Linked DNA regions of Homo sapiens: all the other regions are linked to region 2. Evidence: promoter capture Hi-C in 16 types of primary human blood cells and fetal thymus (Javierre and others, 2016). All regions are on one chromosome and are shown on one strand. Each heading gives the region's core, a stretch centred on a gene start or on the middle of the fragment in contact. The rest is flanking DNA. Distances are from core to core; before and after follow the strand shown.

What was found. Contacts are between HindIII fragments. The CHiCAGO score rates a contact against its expected background, and 5 or more counts as called.
Region 1: a contact is called between a fragment that was not itself captured here and the fragment with the promoter of BLOC1S5 in region 2, in 4 of 17 cell types (naive CD8 T cells, total CD8 T cells, total CD4 T cells and 1 more). The highest score is 6.5, in naive CD8 T cells.
Region 3: a contact is called between a fragment that was not itself captured here and the fragment with the promoter of BLOC1S5 in region 2, in 8 of 17 cell types (non-activated CD4 T cells, total CD8 T cells, naive CD8 T cells and 5 more). The highest score is 15.1, in non-activated CD4 T cells.

What each region holds. Positions count from the first base shown.
Region 1 is chr6:7,292,251-7,295,656 of GRCh38, forward strand. It overlaps SSR1 (signal sequence receptor subunit 1), which reads right to left. Exons shown (of 8, transcript NM_003144.5): 7 at 3,142-3,235. Among named protein-coding and RNA genes, the nearest start is that of SSR1, 19 kb to the right of the region's middle. The HindIII fragment of the contact is 8,134 bases long and covers 1-3,406 here.
Region 2 is chr6:8,062,429-8,066,009 of GRCh38, forward strand. It overlaps BLOC1S5 (biogenesis of lysosomal organelles complex 1 subunit 5), which reads right to left and starts at 1,961. Exons shown (of 5, transcript NM_201280.3): 1 at 1,837-1,961; 2 at 106-188. The coding sequence starts at 1,948. It overlaps BLOC1S5-TXNDC5 (BLOC1S5-TXNDC5 readthrough (NMD candidate)), which reads right to left and starts at 1,986. Exons shown (of 13, transcript NR_037616.1): 1 at 1,837-1,986; 2 at 106-188. EEF1E1-BLOC1S5 (EEF1E1-BLOC1S5 readthrough (NMD candidate)) reads right to left here. Exons shown (of 7, transcript NR_037618.1): 4 at 106-188. RefSeq lists enhancers at 1,169-1,795, 1,405-1,594, 3,285-3,384, 3,395-3,544. The HindIII fragment of the contact is 8,031 bases long and covers 1-3,078 here.
Region 3 is chr6:7,311,377-7,314,619 of GRCh38, forward strand. SSR1 (signal sequence receptor subunit 1) reads right to left here and starts at 1,823. Exons shown (of 8, transcript NM_003144.5): 1 at 1,666-1,823. The coding sequence starts at 1,744. RefSeq lists enhancers at 987-1,855, 1,856-2,722, 2,059-2,128, 2,139-2,198 and silencers at 1,279-1,328, 1,459-1,568. The HindIII fragment of the contact is 2,424 bases long and covers 533-2,956 here.

The DNA of each region.
Region 1 (3,406 bases), core at 522-3,021, 770 kb before region 2:
CTCTCCTCATCCTTCCATGCTTCTCTTTCCTAGATTATGGGACATTAATGGGATCAGCTTTCACCCAGTTGCCTAAGTTCAGAATGCTCTTTCATTCCTCCCTCACTAACACATCCAGTCATAAAAAACCCCATCTACTCCACCTGTGAAACATCCTTCTACTCCCTTTTACTCCTATCACCACTGCCTCTGCTTAGGCCCCAGTGACTTCTGTGCTTTACTGAAATCGCGGAACTGGTAACCCTGCTTCCAGCAGCTCCTTTGCAGTCCTCCACAAAGTGATCCTAATTTTTCCTTTCTTTTCTTTTTTTTCTCTTAGAGATGGGAGACTTGCTATGTGGCCGAGGCTGGATTCGAACTTCTGGGCTCAAGCGATCCTCCTGCCTTAACATTTCCAGTAGCTGAGACTACATGTGCACACCACCATGCCCAGCTTACCATAATTTTTAAAACACAATTGTAATTCCTCTCCTTTAAAGTGGCTCTTTGACCTAGGAGTCAAAAGTTGTTAGCATAGCTCATAAAACCTTAAAGACTCCTTCTCACCCAACCTTTCAAGACTCGGGTCTAGTGCTGACCTCCTCCTGTGCTCTTGTTACTTTGAACCCACCTTTCATAAAGCAACTGCTATACTGCAATATGACAGCTAGCTCACAGAAAGAGACAGCTAGCTCACAGAAAGCAGTAGAGAAAACAATTTAAAAATGGAAAAGGACCTGAACAGCCAATTCACAGGAAAAGAAACCCTAGCCAATACAGTCATCTCTATTATCTGCAGGAAATTAGTTCCAGGACTACTCCCCCACGGCAACCCCACCCAAATCCAGGCATACTGAAGTTCCGCTGTCAGCACTGAGGAACCGGTGGATACAAAAAGCCTTCCCTGTACTTAGGTTTGGTATCCTGCAAAAACTGTGATTTCCTTTTTTTTTTTTTAATAGATTTTATTTTACTATTATTTCACTAGTTTTGAGGGACAGATGGTGTTTGGCTACATGGGTAAGTTCTTTAGTGGTGACTTCTGAGACTCTGGCGCATCCATCACCCAAGCTGTGTATACGATAACCCATGTGTAGTCTTTTATCCCTCACCCCCCTCCTACCCTTCCCCGAGTCCCAAAAGTCCATTATATCATTCTTATGCCTCTGCGTCCTCAGAGCTTAGCTCCTCAATGATTTCCTTTCCTCCCCACCCCCACCTTTTCTTTTGAGACAGAGTCTCACTGTCACCCAGGCTGGAGTGCAGTGGCACCATCATGGAGCAATCACGGACCTACCAGGCTCAAGCAATCCTCCCACCTCAGCCTAGGCGCACGTCAACACATGTATTTTTTTTTCATTCTTTGTAGAGATGGGGTCTCACTATGTTGCCAAGGCTAGTCTCAAACTCCTGGGCTCAGGCGATCCTCCTGCCTCAGCCTCCCAAAGTGCTGGGATTACAGGTGTGAACCACCACGCCTGGCCAAATATTGTATTTTTTATCTGCTTTTGGTTGCAGATGTGGAACCCACCAATATACCGAGGGTCAATTATATTGAAAAAATCTGTATATAAAGTGAAACCCAAGCAGTTCAAACCTGTGTCTTTCAAGGGTCAACTATGAATATGTATAAAGGAGCTGAACCTCATTCTTAAAGAAATGCAAATGAAACAGTAAGACACTCATTTTATATCATACCGACAGATTAAATAGGCAATATTGTGCATGGTTGAGAACATAAATTGGCACTACCTTTTTTTCCCCTTTTAGGAGGGAAATGGGGTCCCTTCCATAAAAATTCAGTGTATTTAATCTTAGACCTAGTTACTCTACCTTTAAGAAGTTATCCTATAAATTTATATATAAGAATATTCATTACAGTATCATCTGTAGGAGTGAAAAAATAAAAGTAACCAATATCCTTCCAATACAGAACAGGTTTAATCTATCATGACATACATATATATATAAAATAATATTGTCTAGTTGTAAAAAAACAGTTTAGTAAATATTTATGTAGTTACTACAAAGAGACATCCAAGGTATGAAAACTGAAGTTGTAGACAGCATGATGCAATCTGAACTAAATACTCACATAAAAACAATAGGCGTATATGCTTATAGATATATAGAAATTAATGGAAAATATAAACATAATACCATTTATGAAAAATAGGGCCGGGCGTGGTGGCTCACGCCTGTAATCCCAGGACTTTGGGAGGCCGAGGCTAGCGGATCACTTGAGGTCAGGAGGTCGAAGCCAGCCAGGCCAACATGGTGAAACCCTGTCTCTACTAAAAATACAAAAAAAATTAGCCGGGCGTGGTGGCACGTGCCTGTAATCCCAGCTACTTGGGAAGCTGAGGCAGGAGAATCACTCGAACCCAGGAGGCGGAGGTAGCAGTGAGCCAAGACCATGCCACTGCACTCCAGCCTGGGCGACAGAGCAAGATTCCATCTCAAATAAATAAATAAATAAATAAATAAATAGGATTAATGAAGTCAGGAATTGACTTATTTTTTTCACTTCTGTACTATTTAATTTTTTATAATGAGGCTGCATTGGTTTTATAATAAACATTTTTAAAATGTCCTACAATTGAAGAAACATTTCTATATTCTTTTATAAAGGTTAGTATTTTAACTGAATATGTAATAAAACTGAAATGTATCTGTAAAATAAATTGTCGGGTAATATTTTAGGTTTATTCTTTCAAGTTATACTGGGTAGTTTTTCTAATAAAATGTAGTAAGAAAAATTGTTCCATTACTCATTAAACTTGACGTAAAATATTTACGTGCTATTTGAGAGCCCCCAATTCTCTAGCAAAAACCATTAAAAAAATTAAATGCCTCACCTCTTCTACTCTGCACTGAAGCAACAGAAAGAAAAGAGACAGGAAATGGATTAGGAACACAGAAAATTCACACATTCATAAATAAGCTGCAGATCTGGAAGAATTTCCAAATTAAAGCATAAGAAGACTACACACTGAATAAACCTTTAAGGTCTTAATTAATCACTATACTAGATTCTACACAAGTAATGGAAAAGATGAATGTTAAATAGTACTGAAAAAGTTTTTTTTTTAAACTAAATCTAAGGTATTTAATTTCCACTTAAGAGAAAAACTTCCCAGCCAAGTCTGTAAGACTACTTACTGATTTGATTCAATGTTTCCTGAGGAATCCAACTCATGTCAACATCATTCTGACTTGATGTACCCATTTCTACTTTCTGTATGGGTCTCTTACGCTAAAAGAACATAAAGACATATTTTAAAGGAGTTCCGTTACACCATTTACTTAATATTTTTTAAAAAAGAGTTGAGGTCTTGCTATGTTGCCCAGGCTGCCTGGAACTCCTGGGCTCAAGCAATCCTCCTGCCTGAGCCTCCCAAGTAGCTGGGACTATAGGCACATACTA
Region 2 (3,581 bases), core at 711-3,210:
ACACATGAACTAAAATCCGATTTTAAAACTGGGGAATTTCTCTTCTGTATAATAACACACTAACAATTAGGGAAGTACTTTTATAAAATAAGTTTAAATACTCACTTCAAATTCTTTTACAAAATAACGAGTTTCACCTTGAATAACTGGTCTGTGATCCAAAAGCCTTGAATGAATTTCTCCAAGATCTATAAAGATAAAATGAAATTCAGGGTTAATCCATGCTAAATGGCATAATCTCTAGCTTGTTTTACTCTCTCCCTTCCCCACTAAGAGATGAAGGTTAAAATCCAGTTTAGACTATGGACTAAGAAGAAATCTCATCCACTGCCAGTGGATGTGTACACTGATACAACTACTTTTGAGAACAATCTTTCAGTATTCAATAAAGTTGCAGACATGTATACCTAGCATTTTCATGCCTAGGTATGTACCCTGGAAAACTCTTGCACAAATGAGTAAGGCCATTTATACATATTTATTACAGCATAGGTGTAATATCAAAAGAAAAAACGCAAAACACCTTAACCATACTCATACAATGGAATTCTATCAATCACCAAGTAAAAATAAATACATCAGAGTTACACTTATCAACATAAATATAAAAAATAATACGTATTTTATAATAAATATAATAAAAAAGCAAGTTTCAGAAGGATTAAAGCAATTTACATAAAACTTTAAAATATTCAAAATATTTCCTTTTGGGATATAGACAGAAGCAACAAAACTATAAAGAAATGCACAAGAATAATAAACACCAAATTCTGGATAGTGGCTACCTTGAGACGAGGGAGGGGAACTAGTGCAATTAGAGCAAGACACAGTGGGGCTTTTAGTAATTTATTTATTAAGGTGGGTGGTGAATGTTCATTGTAAGTCTCTTTTTCATAAGTCTGAAAAAGTCATTAAGAAAAGGTCTGAATTTAAGTCTTTTGGTGAGTCAGTTTATTATTCTTCTTAGTTACAACTATGTAGTTTAAAATGTAAGTCTCAAAATTCCTTGAGAAATTAAATCTAAGACAATGTATTATTCATATTCATTCACTGGCAATGTTCCCCAAATTTTTCATTTTTGCAGACATACGATGGGCAGGTTTCAATTCTCTATTTTAATGAATTTTATTAGTACATATCTTCTTAAGCATGTCAAGTAGAAAAAATAATACAAGCACTGTATATAAGCACTTTATATCTGGTATATATAAAGCACTACAACTCAACTGTCAAAGACTTTCACGCAGCAAACAGCGTTGTGAGCTTTAGGAGTCAAACCTAAAGCAGATTCTGTGAGAATCTAGGTTGTAACCTTCTCCCAGCTCAAAGCACACAGAACACATGGACATTTCTGAACGTGAATGGTTCTTTACAGTGCTATAGAGCGCCTTCGTAAGTGTATCTCACTTACTCCTCGCACGACCAGGAACAGATCGGGTAGGAGAGTGAGTAAAGCCAGTGACCCGAAGTCACTCAACTCCTAAGCGACTGCCTCCCGCCTCCCAGGTCCAATGCCCTTTCCACTACACGTCGGTGGCGAGGCTGCCCAAAGGCTCTGCGCCCAGGGGTCCTGAGCTTGCGGAATGGACGGGGGCGGGCCTGATGGCTCAGGCTGCGACAGAGGAAAGCGGGGAAACACGAAGAGTTGGGCTGGTTGGTTGTGGTGGGACGCATTTGGCGCGGGGAAAAAGGCGGGGACCGACCACGACTCCCCCACCCGCACAAACGCACGCGCGCCAGCCCGGGACCCGGGGGTCGGCCCGGGTCAGAGGGCGCCGCCTGGGAGATGAGGCTGTGCTGGGATCCACCAGGAACTATAGCCCTGACACTCCGTACCCTTGATAATGAGGTGCGCTGAGCCCGCAGTCCCCAGGGAGTCCCTCTTCTTGCTGCCACCGCCCGGGGCGGCCTCACAACCCACAGGGGTCTCTGTCCCTCCGCCACTCATCCCGACCAGTTCCGCCCACCCGCGGCCACGCTGCGCCTGCGCAAACCCGGCCGCCCTCTTACAAGGCGCGCCCGGGTTTTTTTTGTGTGTGTGTCATTACAGGGCGCCGGAGAAATTTAATCTACCCAGCGGGCGGTTCCGGAAAGGCGCCTGCCGTGTAGTCAGGCTGTGAACTGGCAGAAGCTCTTGCCGCCATGCTGGATCAGGGCGGATGCTGCTAGAATAGGAAGGTGCTTGAACTTTGGAGCTAAACTCAGAGCCCTGGTTATTTGGCTCAAAGCTGGTGCATTCCAGTACAGTTGTCCTCCCATATCTGCTGAGAATACATTCCAAGACCCCCAGTAGATTCCTGAAACTGCATATAGTACTGAACCATGTATATACTATGTTTTTTCCTGTATATACATATGATAAAGTTTATAAATTAGGCACAGTAAGAGATGAACAATTAGAACAATTTAATAAAAGTTATGTGAATGTAGTCTCTCTCCCAAAATATCTTATTGTACCGTCCTGCGGGTAATGAAACCACAGAAAGTGAAACCTCAGATAAGGGGGGACTACTGTATAGCAAAGCCAATTAGCTGGGGGCTGTTTCCCTACTATGCCATGAGTGTGGCTGACTATTCCTGCCTTTCTTTTTAGACACCTGTTTCCTAGAATGCTTCTCTTGCTCCCTCTTTCTGTTCAAGTCAGTAAACTCACGTTGTATAATAAAGAATTTGACTGGACTTTGACTCTGGTTCCTGGGAGGTACCCTCAATCCTTAGAATTTCCCAAGTGATAGAAGTGTCTTTGTTATTCATGGTGGGCCTCTGGAAATACACCTGAGTTTATGCTAATGAGATGGCTCATGGAGGGCCCAAGATGATTTCAGAATGGAGGCTGGCCACACCAGAAGGGCCGGCCAACCATGAGGGCTTAGGCTTTGAGTCACATAAGCAGGCCCACCTCTGGGGAGCAGATTGGGGCTGGAGACTGAGTTCAGCCATGTGGCCAGTGATTTAACCAACTATGCCTACATAATGGAACCCCAGTGAGTACTCTGGATGTGGAAGCTCAGGTGAGCTTACTGGTCGATAATCATTCATCAAAGTGTCAGGAGGGGGAAGCGTTCCTGAGGACACGTAAGCTTCTATTTGGGAAATCTCCCACATCTCGCCCTATACATCTCTTCATTTGGCTGGTCCTGATATGTGTCCTTTATAATAAAACTGTAATAGCAAGGAAAGCACTTTCTTGAGTTCTATGAGTCATTCTGTGAAACCTGAGGGAGTAAAGCGAATAGCAATGAAACATCATGTGTAGAGAGAAGCTGCGTGGGTGAGAACTGAGGCACCCTAGCAGACAGTGCTCAGGCCCTGGGCATATGACAGAGACAGCTGGTCAGAAGTGCAGGTGGCCTGGGAACCCCAAAGCTTGTGGCAGGTGTCTGAAGGGGAGTCTTGAGGAGGACCATGCTTTGACCTCTGAAGTCTGTGCTAACTTCGGATAGCACTGCAGTTTAACAAACACTTACATGGCACTTGCTACATGCCAGGTAATACTGTAAGTGGTCTACAAATTTGCATTCATTTAATCCTCATGGCCGGCCTTTGAAGTAGTTATTATTAATGTCCTCATTTACAGACGA
Region 3 (3,243 bases), core at 495-2,994, 750 kb before region 2:
GGAAGGGAAGCGTGTTTTCACCCAGGAGAAACAGTTAAGGACCATGCATTTGCAGTCTTTTCCATGTCTTTAAGTTCTCACTGGCTGCTAAGATTTATTGCAAAATATTAAAGAACACTGAACCATGCATTATGAACTAAAGAGATTTCACTGCCTGCTGAACAAAGCCTAAAATAGTGCATTCATAACTTACAAGTCCTTTTCAAAAACCAGTAAGAAAAATACCATGTCTGATATAGTAATTTAAAGTCGTGGTTAAATTTGAGCACTTTGGAATATAAAGGCCTTTCATAAATATTAAACAATTTTATTATTTTAATGTTAACCAATAACAATTTTGTCCCCATGAAGTCTAACAGTCTTCATTCAACTGGAAAAACCAAACACAAAAACCGTTTCTCACAAAAAATGTTTACAAGATATTAATTCAGTTTAGATAATGAATTCATGCTTCTTGAAAGTTTTTATAACTTGAAAATAGTTATAAATAGTTCTAAAACTAAAACTACATTTGTCAAGTTTTCTTTTAAAAAGCTTAAAGAGTACCAGCAAACGACTCCTAAAGTAAAAAATCTTGTTAAACCTGCAGATTAACTCATTAACAGTTGTTTAATTCTCCCACTTGGTTTTCTAGCCATTAAACAGAAGCCAGTCACTTCACTTTTCATCGCAAAACAACTCGTGAATACCTGTCACTACCGTTAAGACACACAGCTTGCTTAAACTTACAGAATGAAAGGGATGCTTAGTCAGACTAATTATTTCACTTTACAAATTAGAAAGTCGAAGTTCACGACAAAACCTGTGCAGGAAGTCAAGTTGCCATATTTTTATATTCTGCTAAGTTATTTTCACACTTAATTGCTGGGTTAATTGTTGAAAGAATAAATCTATGTATTAAAAACACTCGAAGTAGGCCACATTTTTTCAGCACAATACGATGTTTCCACAAACAAAAAATTGTTCCATGGAAAGACAAGAAGAGGAAGAAGGCAGAAGGGAGACATCCCACAGGGATTCTTCAGTCTGCTTGGCAGCAGGGGCGGATAACGGGGGTGACGATGGGGTAGTTTTTCTGAAATCAAGCCTCCTAGTAACACATACGGGTCAAGCAGGGCGTGAACAAGGCAGATGACCATTGAACAAGACACTCTGATGGCTTAGATGTGTAGAAAACAAGGGTTTTGGCAAATGAATGAAGACGGACTCCCGGCGTGGAAGCTAAAGACACGTCAGCCCTGAGCGCGAGGGGCTGGGGGTGGAGCGGAGCCGGAGGTGGCCAAAAGAAACAGCCCGGCTGCGGCGCGCTCGGAGCGCAGCCGTGTCCAGCGCCTCCTCCTGCAGCCGAGGACCCTCCAGTTCTGGCCGCTCCTGCAGGCGAGGGTCCAGGGCAAGAGGAGCAAGCCCAGCCCTCGGCCGGCCACGAAGCAAGGTCGCCCGGGCACGGCCCCGCGCTCCGCGTGCAAGGGGCAGGCCGCAGCGGGGTCTCCAGCGCCCGCGGGGACCCCTGCTGCTACGAGCCTAGGCTTGGGGAGAGGGCGGAGAGAGGCCAGCGGGGTGGACGCGGACCCCAGGACCCGGAGCGGCCACCGCCTCCAACTTCAAACTTGCCATCACTGGCATCTCCTTCCTGGCCATCCCCTCCGCACACTCCCCCAGCCTCACCTCTGGGGCCGCCTCGGAACAAGACAGTGGCAGGGAACACGAGTAAGAGAAGCAGCAGCAAGCGGGGGAGGAGTCTCATGGCGCTGCCGGTCCAGTGTCCAGTTTCCGTCGGCTAAGGCTCTCGGCGGCTCCGGCGGTAATGGCGTTACTCTTCATCCGGGCTCCGGGCAGCGAGGGGCGGGACACGTACCGCGCACGGGCCTTTGCCACGCCCCTCCCTGGACCAGGGACCGCCGCCGACGTGGCTGCTCAGCGCGGAGAGGTGGGGAGAGCAGGCCACCGGGAAGTCACGTGGCCGGCTGCTGCCTCTTTGTGGCTCCCGCGAGAGTCCGCCTTCCGCCGCAGTTGCGACCCGGCAGCTTGCGGTTAGCCGTTCTTTCCGCCCAGTTCTTTACTTCCAATTAATTAGCATTGTCAGTGGTTACTTTATTTGAATGACGATCCTCTTGATAACGGCGATGTAAGGAACATGAGCTGCCTTTATGTGGCACTTAAAAGCAAAAAATTTTGTTGGAAGAGAGGACATTGTTCAAAGGAAAAACCATGAAAATACACAGTGGAAAATCTTTGTCCCCTGTCTGCCCACACCCTCTCCCATGGTTAAGTAATGACAATTCTTAAATTATTATTTTTGAGACGAAGTCTTGCTCTGTCGCCCAGGCCAGAGTTCAGTGGCACCATCTCTGTTCACCGCAACCTCCGCCTCCCGGGTTCAAGCGATTCTCCCGCCTCAGCCTCCTAAGCAGCTGGGACTACAGGCGCGCACCACTACGCCCGGCTAATTTTTGTATTTTTACTGGAGACGGGGGTTTCACCATGTTGGCCAGACTAATCTCAAACTCCTGACCTCAGGTGATCCACCCGCCTGGGTCTCTCAAAGTGCTGGGATTACAGGTGTGAGCCACTGCGCCTGGCCAGCAATTCTTAAATTCGTATGTGACATTCCAGAATTATAAGTCACCTAAACAGTGTTTTGGTATGTAGTCAGCATTTGTAACTATACAATAGGTGCAGCAATGGCTGTCCAGTTTTCTTTAGTTTCCTTTTCATCTATTTTGGATTTGAGTTGCTGGAGTAATATAGCAGTTCATGAAATTAATCTGAATATTAAGTAATCTTGGTCTGGACCAGAGTGAGATGTCATAAAGATGAGGAAATAAATCATATGCTTACTATTGTCAATCACCTCCTTAGAGCTGTGCTTTTTCATTTAATTTTCTAAACCTCTCTATGAGCTGGATATTATTTACTGAGGAGAAAACAGACCCAGAGAGGTTAGTAATTTACTCAAAGCTTCAAAACGCTAGCAAACGGCAGATGCAAGATTTGAACAAGGCTATCTGGTTCCAGATTCCATACACTACTGACCTAGGACATTTGCTGTTCTACTCCTGCATTGTTTCCGCTTCAGGTCTCCTTGTCCTGGGGGCTGTAAATGCAGCTTGGACCCACTGCCACCACTACCTACAGTCTGCTAAAGTCACAGCCTGATGGTGCTGGGCTGAATCAACCAAATTCCACTCTGCCAGGCCACCAGTGGCACCGCTGCTGTGTTGCTGCTGCTACTAGGGCGCCCAG